Regions from separate parts of the Homo sapiens genome. Here region 2 is linked to region 1. The links are contacts of gene promoters, found by promoter capture Hi-C in human tissues and cell types (Jung and others, 2019). All regions are on one chromosome and are shown on one strand. Each heading gives the region's core, a stretch centred on a gene start or on the middle of the fragment in contact. The rest is flanking DNA. Distances are from core to core; before and after follow the strand shown. Region 1 holds the start of RARRES2 (retinoic acid receptor responder 2). Region 2 has its middle 16 kb from the start of ATP6V0E2.

Region 1 (5,697 bases), core at 3,096-5,595:
AAAAAAAGAGAAAAGAAAAGAAGACAAAAGAAAAGCTGTTGCTTTGCTTTCTGATTTTAAAAGTATTAAGGCCAAGCACAGTGGCTCAAGCCTGTAATTTCAGCACTTTGAGAGTCCAAGGTGGGTGGATTGCTGAACCTAGAAGTTTGAGATCAGCCTGGGCAATGTGACAAAATCCTGTCTCTAGAAAAAAATACAAAAATTAGCCTAGGATGATGGCATGCACCTGTGGTCCAAGCTACTTGGGAGGCTGAGGTGGGAGGATCGCTTGAGCACAGGAGGTTGAGGCTGCAGTGAGCCATGATTGAGCCACTGCTCTCCAGCTTGAACGACAGAGCAAGACCCTGTCTCAAAAAATAGTTTTTAAAGTTTTTTTATATTTTAATAGACAAATTATCCACAAGTTATAAAAATTTAAAAGTACAAAGGGAGTACAGTTTTCCTGCCTCTGTTTTCCCCAGCTGGACAGATCCTCTCCTCACAGGCAAACACTGTTATAAGTTTCTTGTTTTTCCCTTCTAGAAATATTCCATGCATTTACAAACACAAAAATTTGTTCATTTTTAGTTTTAGTTTTTACTCACATAATTGGTAACACATGCTCTGCCTGCAATATCCAATATGGTAGCCACCAGCCACAGGTTTAGGAACACTTGCCATGTGGCTGGTGTGACTGAGGTATTTATTGGAATGCTAAAACAAGAGATTGATGCTTCCAATGTTGCTTCATTTCACTTTAGGGTACATATTGAAGATATTTGTGCTCAGTTTTCTGAAATTTATTCTATGCAAGTCTCATGGCTACAGCCATTAAAACTAATTCCGTATTTAAGTGGAAATGCTATGAATCACTGCTGGTTTTATGGAACTGTTGAAAGCAATGAAAGATAATGAATTTAATGATCTTTTCTTTACCAAAGCTCATTGTCAGGGTTGTAGAAGAGTTCTCCTAAGATTTACTGTACTTTTAACTAACTCCAAGATTTTCTTGAGACAGAAGCCATGATTACCAAATATACAACAATAAGTATTATTATTATTTGTTTTGGGGACAAGGTTTTGCTCTGTGGCCAAGTCTGAGAGTGGTGGCTTGAGCCTATAATCCCAACACTTTGGGAGGCTGAGGTGGGAGGGTCATGTAGTGGCATGATCATAGCTCACTGCAACCTTGACTTCCCAGGCTCAAGTGATCGTCCCCCGCCAGCCTCCTGAGTAGCCAGGACTACAGACTTTTGCCACCACACTCAGCTAATTAAACTTTTTTTTTTTTGTAAAGATAGCCTCTCTCTATATTGCCCAGGCTGGTCTTGAACTCCTGGGTTCAGTGATCCACCCACCTTGGACTCCCAAAGTGCTAGGATTACAGGCATGAGTCACTACTCTCAACCCAAATATTCAATAATTAAAAATAAAAAAGTCAGTGTTTTCTCACCAATACCACACTACATATAAATGGGCTAAATTTGAATATCCAAGGAGATGAAACCTCATTTGTGACCTAGCCAGATAAATATAAGCATTTCAAATTAAATATTTTCATAATACTGACAAATAATTACAATCTACATACTTTTGTCACAAGAATCAACATACAGAGGTTTTAATTGTAATATACAGCATTGTGTAAATTGGCAAAATTTCAAGAAAAATGTGAAGAATTCTTAGTTGATATTGATAAATTTAGAATGGCTTTTGAATTTATGCAATATCATTTTTGAATTTATGCTAATGGTACCGAATTGACACAAGTTGGAAAATGTACTTAACTTCAATAGGTGTAGTTTTGCAACTGATATGCTCTTACTTCAAAGTCAAATCACTTCTTCTAAAAAAAACTATTTTTGTCAATGTGGTTGCAAATATTAAAGGACAATGTTTTTTGGTACTCAGTTCAGTTATTGGAAAACTAAGCTTGGAACAACTGGATACGTGAGTCTACTTTTTTAGCTGTCATGACCAGGAAGATCATTAACCATCATTAAATAGTGAAGTCCTGTTGTTGCTCCCCTGGACTGGGACATGTTACCTGGAGCTGAGCTCATGAATATGCCCTAAGTAGTCCTTTCACACATCCACACCTATGAGTGCTCTGCAGTAGGACTGTCCACCTCTTTGGGGTGCACCTCACATACCTACACCCAAAGTGAATTTTGTGTGGCCATTTAAGTATAGCCAGACTGGCTCCTTCCTCACCAACTCCCACCACCCTGCTCCCAACCTACCTCCCCACCTCAACTGCCTCACCTCCCCTGCAACAGACCTGATGCAACTTTCCCCCCAGCCCCCACCAAAGTCAGGATGAGTTTCCCGCTTTGCTCAGCTCAAGTCCTACCTTGTCCTGGAAGATTTCTCTCCTCACCCATCCTCAGGACGTCCCCCAGCATGGGTCTGTGGGGGCCAAAGGAAAACTTCCCCTTTGCCTTCTGAAGGTTTGCTGAAAAATCAACTGATGAAAGGCAGATTAATAGAATAAATTGATTCATTTATATTTTAGAGACAAGGTCTTGCTCTGTCCAGAGAGGCTGAAGTACAGTTTCATGATCAGAGCTCACTGCACCTTTGAACTCCTGGGCTCAAGCAATCCTCCTGCCTCGGCTTTAACAGGAAATATTTATTAACATACATGAGAGAGAACCACAAAGTGATTACCCCAACCCCTCAGTGGGATACAGAAGCTTATCCACCATCTTGAGTTTATACAAATATGGGGGCTCAGATAGTGGCAAGACAGGTTATGGAAGGGAGGGAAGAGGAGGCCTGGTTGGCAAAGGGAGTCTTGTTAGGTAGATGACACCTCACAGGTAGCAGCCCTCAGAAAGAACTGAGGGTAAATGTTTCTTTCAGATCTGTAAAGGTGTCAGCCTCTCAGTTAATCTTTCCTAGAGTTAGACAAGGGAGAGCCTCGGAGAAAGCCTGGCTACATCAATGCAGATTTCCTCTACAGATGCAAATCTCTCCACAAAAAGACAGCTTTTTGGTTATTCTATTTCCAACCATTCTGAACAGCCACCTTGAAATGTGTCAAAGAAGTATTTTTTGGGGTGAAATATTTTGGTTTCCTTCAAGTTCTTGGGCTGGGAAACATCTTTGGGTGCATCTTTTCTCTCTAACCCCATCTAAAGCTTTCAGGGAACACGGATCCCATCTCTTTCTGCTTAAGGGCGGCTGAGTAGCTCACAGCTGGGGAGTGAAGTACCCTAAGTAGTGGTGGGATTTCAGACACCTGGAAGTGGTTAATGGAAGCCGAGTTTCTTTCTGGTGCCCCCAGAGCACACTGTAAAGGAAATTCTCAGCTCTAAGTGGAGAATCCTGGTTAGGGGTGCGTAAGTAGGGGACAAAAGCCTTGTGCTCGGCACTGGACATCAGTTGCTTTTCATGTTTCTTCATTTAATCCTCAAAACAACTCCTTAAGACAGAGTTTCTGATCCCCATCTTACAGATAAAGAAACAGAAGTTCAGAGAGAGCCATGAAGTTACATGAGATCCTCTACTTCAGGTGATCCCTGCGGTGTGGGAACCAGAGGCATGGTGTTGGTGGTTACTGACGTGCAAAGTCTCAGAGCTTCTTCATCCTTGCTCCAGCGTACCCAGGAGTCGAGCCGGTATTTGGACAGTTTTCCTTGAGTTTCTGCTCACCTTATGAATTCCATCATGCCGTTCTGCCACACCCGAAGGCTCCCCCACTCCCCATGAGAATCTATCCCACGGAGAATGGGGCACGAGGAATGGTCAGGAAAGGCAGATGCAGGATACACACTGGACATCTTTGCTGTCGATCAAGGTTGCAGGCGCCAGAGTCCTCCCTAAAGGAGAGACCTTCCTTCTCAGTGTGGCTCAGGGAGTGGGAGGCAGGATCAGGTGTAGGGACCTCGAGGTCTCATTTGGTTTGAGAATGTCTGTATTTAGGGGAAGAAATCCCAGGATGAGTGTCTCAGGGACGCTGGGGAATGGTCCCCCGTAAAGGACCCAAGACAGGGCAGCCCTGCCTGGGTAGGAGTGGGGCACAGAAAGTCCTTGGGGGAGCAGAGCAGCGGAGAAGAGGCCCGGGCCGGCCGAGGCTGCGGAATGCTCAGGCCCGAGCCAGAGGGAGGTGGGACCGAGGGCTGCGCGCCTGGGCGAGCCGCCTGCAGCCGCGGCCAGGGTCAGGGTCATGAGGGCTGGATCGAGGGGAAGGAGGGGGGTGGGATGGGGAGGGAGGGCGCGGGAGGGCATCCCGCCCCAGAGGCCGGTCCCACTGGGGAGGGGAGGAGCCAGAGTTGCTGGAGGGGGTCCAGGAGGTGGGGGTGGGAGGAGGTGGGGGCCGCCCCGCGAGAAGAAGAGCGGGAAGAGGCGGACAGCGAGGCCAAGATTTCAGCTGCGGGACGGTCAGGGGAGACCTCCAGGCGCAGGGAAGGACGTGAGGAGGGGAAGCGGGCTGGGGCGGCAGCCGGGCGGAGGGGCAGCTGCGCAGGCGGAATGAGGAACGCCTTTGCTCTAAGGCGACCACCCTGGCAGCTCTTCACTGAGGGGCCTCGGTTTCCACATCTGTCGCTCTCCGGTCCCAAGACCACCAGGACCGACGGGGCTCTCCGGGAGGGTCAGCCCCTCCGGTGGCCCCAGTCATGCATCAGGGGACGGATCAGAAGGGCTAGGAAGAGGGGTCGTGGGGAAGGCCCCAGAAAAAAGAGGAAGGAGGGAAGATTTTGCCTGAAGCGGGAAAGCCAAGGGCTGGGCGGCGCGAGACCCCCATTCCTAGCGACTGGGGCTGGCTGGTGGCCCGCGGCAGCCCCCGCGCCGGGAGGATTAGGCCTCCCGCCGCTCCCACCCGTCCGGACCCTCCCACGTGTTTAGGTCCTCCCAAAAGTATTCGGCCTCCGGCCCCTGCCCCTTCCCCCGGCTGGCCTGGACCTCGGGGACGTGGGGGGAACCCCGTGGGAGCAGGGGGATTCTGGACGGGGAGGGAGTAGCGGTTGGGGAGAAGGCTGAGCGGGGAAAGGAGAGAGGGGCTCCGGGGACGGCAGGGAGGAGAGTGGGTCGTGCCGGAGACCCAGGGAGAGACACAATGGGCAAGATTAGGGGTGTAGGGTGGGAGTGCGAACTGACTGATTCCTAGCGTGGGCAGGGAACTTTGCTAAAACTGCAGGCCCCAGGGAACAGCGCGGGCAGGGTGGGAGGGAACGGAGAGGGCCAGGCGGACCCTAAGGTCAATTTGGAGAAAGGGCCATTTCCAGGCTCCTTCACCTGTGCCCAGCGTTCTACAGGCCTGGACCCCGCCCCCGCTCCCCACCCTCCCCCCAGAGCAGGGCGCGGGAGGAGGCGGCTCGGGCTGGCTCGGAGAGCTGAGGGGCGCACACCCGCTTCGCAGGGCCAGGGTGACACGGAAGCATGCGACGGCTGCTGATCCCTCTGGCCCTGTGGCTGGGTGCGGTGGGCGTGGGCGTCGCCGAGCTCACGGAAGCCCAGCGCCGGGGCCTGCAGGTGGCCCTGGAGGAATTTCACAAGCACCCGCCCGTGCAGTGGGCCTTCCAGGAGACCAGTGTGGAGAGCGCCGTGGACACGGTGAGTAGCATGGCCCGGGCAGGAGCGGGGAGGGTCGTACCCCAGGAGACCAGCGCATTCCCACGAAGGGGGACAGAAGTGCTTGGGCTCTGAGCCCCAGCCCTTTGGAGAAAAGGCCACTGTCCAGCCTGCTGGAATGTGACTGCGTGAGGGAGGTGC
Region 2 (6,344 bases), core at 3,442-5,941, 450 kb after region 1:
CTGACATCAAGGAATCTACAGTTTGGTAGACTGATCTTAAACAATTGTAATTCATCCAGAAAAATGCCTTAATGCAGGAATAAAAGGGCCAGTGGAAGCATCAAACACGTGTACAGAACTGCAGGTTGTCAAGGAAGCCCTCAAGTGAGGAGATGGTGTTGATGTCGAGACCTGATGGATGAAAATAGCTCATGGGAGAGCTCGAGAGTGTGAGCAGGAGTTAGAAATTTGAATGGAAAATGGAATCTTTGTGATGCCCTCCACATTTCATTAGCTGTTAAATTCTGGAGTGAAGTTTGATATGATTATTTACTGCTAAGTATATTCCCAAATATTTAAGGTTAAGATCTTATTAAAATAATGAATTATAAAGCCATTAATATTTGGAATTTTTATGTAATAGTTATTTGATTATGGTACTTTTTTTGGCTACAGATATTAACCAATAACATTCTAATTTATCCTTTTAATGGGATAAATTTTAACGGCTTTTTTTCTTCCTGTAACAAGACTAAAAGTACATTTTAAGGCTATGTGATGTAGAGTCTTATTATAGACATTATTTTTCAGTTTACTCTCCTTTTCTGTATTGTACAGAATTTTGTCCCCTTCCATATTGTATTTTAAATTTGGAACCTACTGATGTATAGGCATTTCACTTACTATCTTGAGGGATTTTTCCAGATAAAACTGAGAAATTTTGCAATGGACCTTCTGTCAGTATAAAAGTAGAGCAGCTCATTTCCTTTGTCCCATTCTGAAAATCATACCAGAATAGAATAACCTGTTTCTGTATTATTTTATGTACTCATTGACATTGTCTTTTCTGTGAGCACCCTTCACCCCACATGGAGCCCTAACAATGAAAATTTACTTGTGTGTATATTAGGATATTATCCCTTTTGATCATTTAAATAGATATGGATAGTGATAGAAATCTGTGTGTGTGTGTGTTTTTTTAAGGTATTGCCATCAGAGAGTCAGCAAAGGTAGTTGACCAAGCCCAAAGGAGAGTGTTGAGGGGAGTTGATGACCTTGACTTTTTCATAGGAGATGAAGCCATCGATAAACCTACATATGCTACAAAGGTAAATTTCCGACAGGTGTCTGCTTCTCTAAGTGTAGAGCAGTAGGATGAGTAATGCAAAATGGTCATCTAGAAGTTGTATTTGCGAGTTGTAGAATGTGTTTCTATTCTTATGTTTGAATTCTTATGTTTGAATAGAGGTGGTGGTGATGGTTGGTTTTGAATGGGGGTATTTTTGATTGGAGAATTAAGGGAATTAACAGATCCCTGGAATGCAGAATAGACTCAGGAAACACCAGGTCACACATGAAAGCAAGATCCCCTCCCCTGGAAAATTGTTGACAGGTTGACTAACCTGTCAGATGAGGGAAAATTGCAGATTGGTTAATTAAAAAGAAACACTAACGTTATTTAAGCAGACTTTTTTTTTTTTAAAGCTCCAGATCCAATTGTATGATAATTAGCTGCAGTTTTCTATCGGTTCCTCATTGTATTTTTTGTTGTTTTTTTAGAGATAGGTCTTACTCTGTCATCCAGGCTGGAGTGCTGTGATGCCGTCTTGGCTCACTGCAGCCTCGACCTCCTGAGCTCAAGCAATCCTCTCACCTCAACTTCCCAAGTAGGTGGGACTACAGGCACGCACCACCATGCCTGGCTGATTTTTTAATTTTTTGTAGAGACAGTGTCTTGCTATGTTGCCCAGGCTGGTCTCGAACTCCTGGGCTCGGGTGAGCCTCCTGCCTTGGCCTCCCAAAGCGTTGGATTAGAGGCGTGAGCCACTGTGCCTGGCCTGCCTCCGTGTCATTGTTAAGGTGATTCTTTGTTTGTGGAAATGAGTGGAGGAGAATATGAACAATAATGTAACTTAATCTTTTTTTTCCAAATGCTGTTGTTTCTTTACAAGAATTAACAACAACTGCAATGAGAAGGAGACCTTTATTCTTAATAATACAGTTTCTTCTGTGCCACTGTTAAACTGTTGCTCTTATTGTTGCGAACTGAGGCTTGACAACTCTGGTGTCTCTTCCTCCAGTGGCCGATACGACATGGAATCATTGAAGACTGGGATCTTATGGAAAGGTTCATGGAGCAAGTGGTTTTTAAATATCTTCGAGCTGAACCTGAGGACCATTATTTTTTAATGGTGAGTAACTGGAACTAAGAGGAATATATTCCTGTAAATTCCAAATTGCTTAGATTTTAAACTGAAGATATTCTTTTCTAGGGCGTTTTAAATTTCTTCTAAAGATATGTGCATGAATCAGGCTGCTTTTTTGAAAATAAAGCTCAATAAAAACGTTCAGAACAAAAAGGGGCTTGTTAGCTCACCAAACAGGAAGCCCAAGTGAGGCAGCTCTAGGGCTGTTGTTTTAGCAGCTCAGTGATGGAATTGCACATGCAGCCTAGGGCACTAGCTGGAGCTCTTCTGTTTGTTCCCCCTGGGTCCAGGGTGGCTGCCAAATTCCTAGATCACCTCTTTGGACATTTCTATACAGAGATAGAAGATTTCCCTTGCACTTTTTAAGAATTTAGAGACCCTTTCCCAGAAACCTTCCCAGCACATTTGCCCCATCTGCCTATGCCTAACCTGGTTAGAGCAATAGGAATGGATTTACTGTGACTGGTTTAGATTCTTGAAGACTTTCTCCTTGGTGTGGGGACCAGGAGAACTTGTCTGATGTTCTGGACCCTGGAGGAGGGTAAGTAGCTAAACAGGCCTCCAAAAGCAAGGACAATAGAAGGAGGAATGGATTTGGATAAACCAACTGCCTACTTTAGTTTTCTTGAGACATAGCAAGATGATTGTAATTATTGCCACTTATAGCAGAGGAAACCAGGTCAAGATGTTGTTTTTTTCTAGGGTTTAAATGTTACTGTAAAATAAAACTGAACTGAGTTATGGGCCCTAATTATATACTTAACTGATTTCATTCAAATGAAATGAAACATCACAGATAAATGAGAAGAAATATCTCCTCGTTCTCTAGTGGTTCTACTCAACATTACATGTTTTCTTCCGTGAGATGCTCTTTTCATCAAGTTAAAATTAATTATATGTACAGAATGCTTGCTTTATAGAGGGCAGTTTCATGTGACGTAAGCTGCGTATTAAACCTGCATAATTTAGGTTTGGATTTTTTTTCATGCAAGTACATTGTCAAATGGTCCCAGATCCAATTATAAAATTCTTTCTGATGTTAGGATATGAAGTGTTTTTAAGAATTATCTGGTATAAGAAATATTTGAACTATAAGGCTAATAGTTATTGGAATAACTATTAAATATGGAATAACTCTATAACGAATATATGTATTTAATGTATATTAAAGCCAGTCTTTGATTTTTTTTCCCTGGCTGTGTCTTCACAGCTGAAATTGCCAAGTATGGCCACTGCGTTTCACAGGCCACTCTGTTTTCTCTGTACATCCACAGTGGTTTATTTTATTTTACTGTTTTGCTCTGTATTTTATTTTTCTAGAAATGGGATCTTGCTCTGTTGTCCAGGTTAGAGTTCTGTGGCACAATCCTAGCTCACTGCAGCCTCGGACTCTGGACTCAGTTGATCCTCCCGCTTCAACCTCCTGAGTAGCTCGGACCACAGGTAGAAGCCACTAGCCTGGCTAATTTTTAAAAATTTTTTGTGGAGATGGGGTGGGGTTGCCTCCATTTGCACCCCTACTTACATTTCCCCCATCCTCTCCAGCCTTTTGTGCTGGCAGACATAACTTGCCCATCTGATGAGTATGAAATGTCTCATTGTGACTTTAATGTACATTTCCCTGATTACTAATGGGGCTAAGTATATTTTTCACCTACTGACTGGCCTCTCAAGTTTCCCTCCTTGTGAGTTGCTGGGAATATACATGCCAATTTTTCAACTGTATTTTTTAGATTAATTTGTCAGTGTTGTTTATATAATCTGGATGCCAATCTTTCATAAATATGTACCACAGCGATCTTTTCCCAGCCTGATTTAGAAAATTTTTCCCTTTTCTGATGTCAGGAAGTCATTTTCTTATGATTTACTTTAAACACTTTGACATTTTGCTCTTTGGGGTTAGGTCTTTGACCTTCCTGAAATTTGTTTCTGTGCATGATCTAAGGTAGGGCTGCAGTTCTTCTTTTGTGAAGTAAGAGTTCAAATTTGCCCACTTTTAAAACTTAGGTTTGTCATGTTGTTTAAGTATGAGTTCTTTATATATTCAAGATACAAGTCTTGACAGATATATGCTTTACAAATAGTTTCTTCCAGTTTGTGGTTTGCTTTTCATTTTTTTAACAATGGTTTTTTTTTAATTTCTTTTTATTATTTTTTATTTTTTTTTCAGGTGGAGTTTCACTCTTGTCGCCCAGGCTGGAGTGCAGTGGCGTGATCTCAGCTCACTGCAACCTCCGCCTCCCAGGTTCAAGCGATTCTCCTGCCTCAGCCTCCCAAGTAGCTGGGATTACAGGCGCTCACCACCACGTCCGGCTACTTTTTGTATTTTTAGTAGAGACGGGGTTTCACCACGTTGGCCAGACTGTTCTCGAACTCCTGACCTCAGGTGATCCACCCGCCTTGGCCTCCCAAAGTGCTGGGATTACAGGTGTGAGCCACCACGCCCAGCAACAATGGTTTTGAAGAGCAGAAGGAGAAATGAGGCTGTCTGATCTTGCCCTCTCTCCCCACTTCCTCCTTCCTTCCCTGTTCCTGGCACTAGATTCACTAGGATTAGGGGAACTTGTAGCCAAGAATATATAAAGAACTTCTATAAATCAATAGGGAAAAGACCAAAAAAAGTCATAGAAAAGCAAGCCAATGATTTGAGTAGGCAAATTAGAGAAGTGGAAACCGAAATGTCCAATAAACAGGTGAAGAGTCAAGCTTAGCAGCTATTAGGGAAATGCAAGTTAAAACCAACTACCATCCAGGTGCTGTGGCTCATGCCACAAGGTTGGTTGAGTGTAAATTGAAACAATCATTTTGGAGAGAAATTTGGCAATCTCTTGTAATATTAAAAGCTCTTTGACTCCTAGATATATATCCTAGAGAAGTTCCAGCAAATGTGCACAAAGACATATAAAAGATGCTTACTATTTGTTAATCTGGAAGTAACACAGGGGTCATTAATAGGGGGGTGGACAAAGAAAGTGTATGTCACTAATGAACTAGATCTGTATGTAACAGTATTGTATCAGTCAGGTGTGCCGCAATAATGCTGCATGACAAAACACCCTAAAACTGACTTATAACAACAGGCATTTAATTTTGGCTAGTATGTCTGCATCAGCTGGCCTGTATTAGTCTGTTTTCACACTGGTGATAAAGACACACCTGAAACTGGGGGGAAAAAAAAAGATTTAATTGGTCTTACAGTTCCACAAGGTTGAGGAGGTCTCAGAATCATGGCAGGAGGCAAAAGGCACTTCTTACATGGCAGCGGCAAGAGAAAAATGAAGAAGCAAAAGCAGAAATCCCTGATAAATCCAACAGATCTCTTGAGACGTATTCACTATCACAAGAATAGCATGGGAAAGACCAGCCCCCATGATTCAATTACCTCCCCTGGTCCCTCCCACAACACAGGGGAATTCTGGGAGATACAATTCAAGTTGAGATTTGGGTGGGGGCACAGCCAAATCATATCATGGGGTTTGGCCAGTCTAGCCCAGGATTGGCTCGACTTGGCTCGGGTCATTTTGTGATTAGTGTGCTCCTCACATTTCACCTTTTCTGGGCCCAGTAGGCCATCCAGGACATGTGCAAGCCAGCGACACTATGGGCAGCTCTGGGAGCCAGTTTATATACCAACTCCTGATGGTACGTCCAGCCTGCTGCCCAGGAAGGAAGCCAGTGCTGGCACCTGGAAGGCGCCTGGCGTGTATGGGAGCACCAAGAGCATGGGGAGATGCACTGCAGCAGGCAGCACAGACCTACAGTCTGTTATCACAGTCTCGCTCTCTGTAATAAGCAGGTTAATAAGGTAATAAGGAGGTTACATTGCTGTTTGAATTTGCTTTCCTTGACTAAGCATCTCTTCATGCTCAAAAGTCTTTTACATGTCTTCTTCTGTGAATTCTTTTGTGTCATTTGCTCATTTATCTACTTGTATGGTTTTTGCCTTGAAGAAAATGTAAATTTTAACTTAGTTAAATGTATAAAGTTTTATCTTCATAGCCTCTGGATTTCTTTTTTTCTTTCTTCCCCTGAGATAGACCTTCCCTATTACATGATAATTTTAAAAATTCTCCAATTTTTTTCTAGTACATTTATAGTTTCTTTCCATTTTGTATGTGTTTTGCTGCTGGGACTCTGGACACTGTTCATTGCCCTACT

What was found. The method cuts DNA at HindIII sites, captures the fragments that hold promoters and counts their contacts. A contact is called where the count stands out against the background at its distance.
Region 2: a contact is called between a fragment that was not itself captured here and the fragment with the promoter of RARRES2 in region 1, in 1 of the 25 tissues and cell types used here (dorsolateral prefrontal cortex).

Annotation. Positions count from the first base shown.
Region 1 is chr7:150,340,277-150,345,973 of GRCh38, reverse strand. RARRES2 (retinoic acid receptor responder 2) reads left to right here and starts at 4,345. Exons shown (of 6, transcript NM_002889.4): 1 at 4,345-4,396; 2 at 5,345-5,538. The coding sequence starts at 5,365. It overlaps LOC107986858 (a long non-coding RNA gene), which reads right to left and starts at 4,129. Exons shown (of 3, transcript XR_001745420.3): 1 at 3,637-4,129; 2 at 2,333-2,446. RefSeq lists a silencer at 5,237-5,306. The HindIII fragment of the contact is 2,199 bases long and covers 2,900-5,098 here.
Region 2 is chr7:149,887,018-149,893,361 of GRCh38, reverse strand. It overlaps a transcript of ACTR3C not described here. Among named protein-coding and RNA genes, the nearest start is that of ATP6V0E2, 16 kb to the right of the region's middle. The HindIII fragment of the contact is 4,672 bases long and covers 2,356-6,344 here.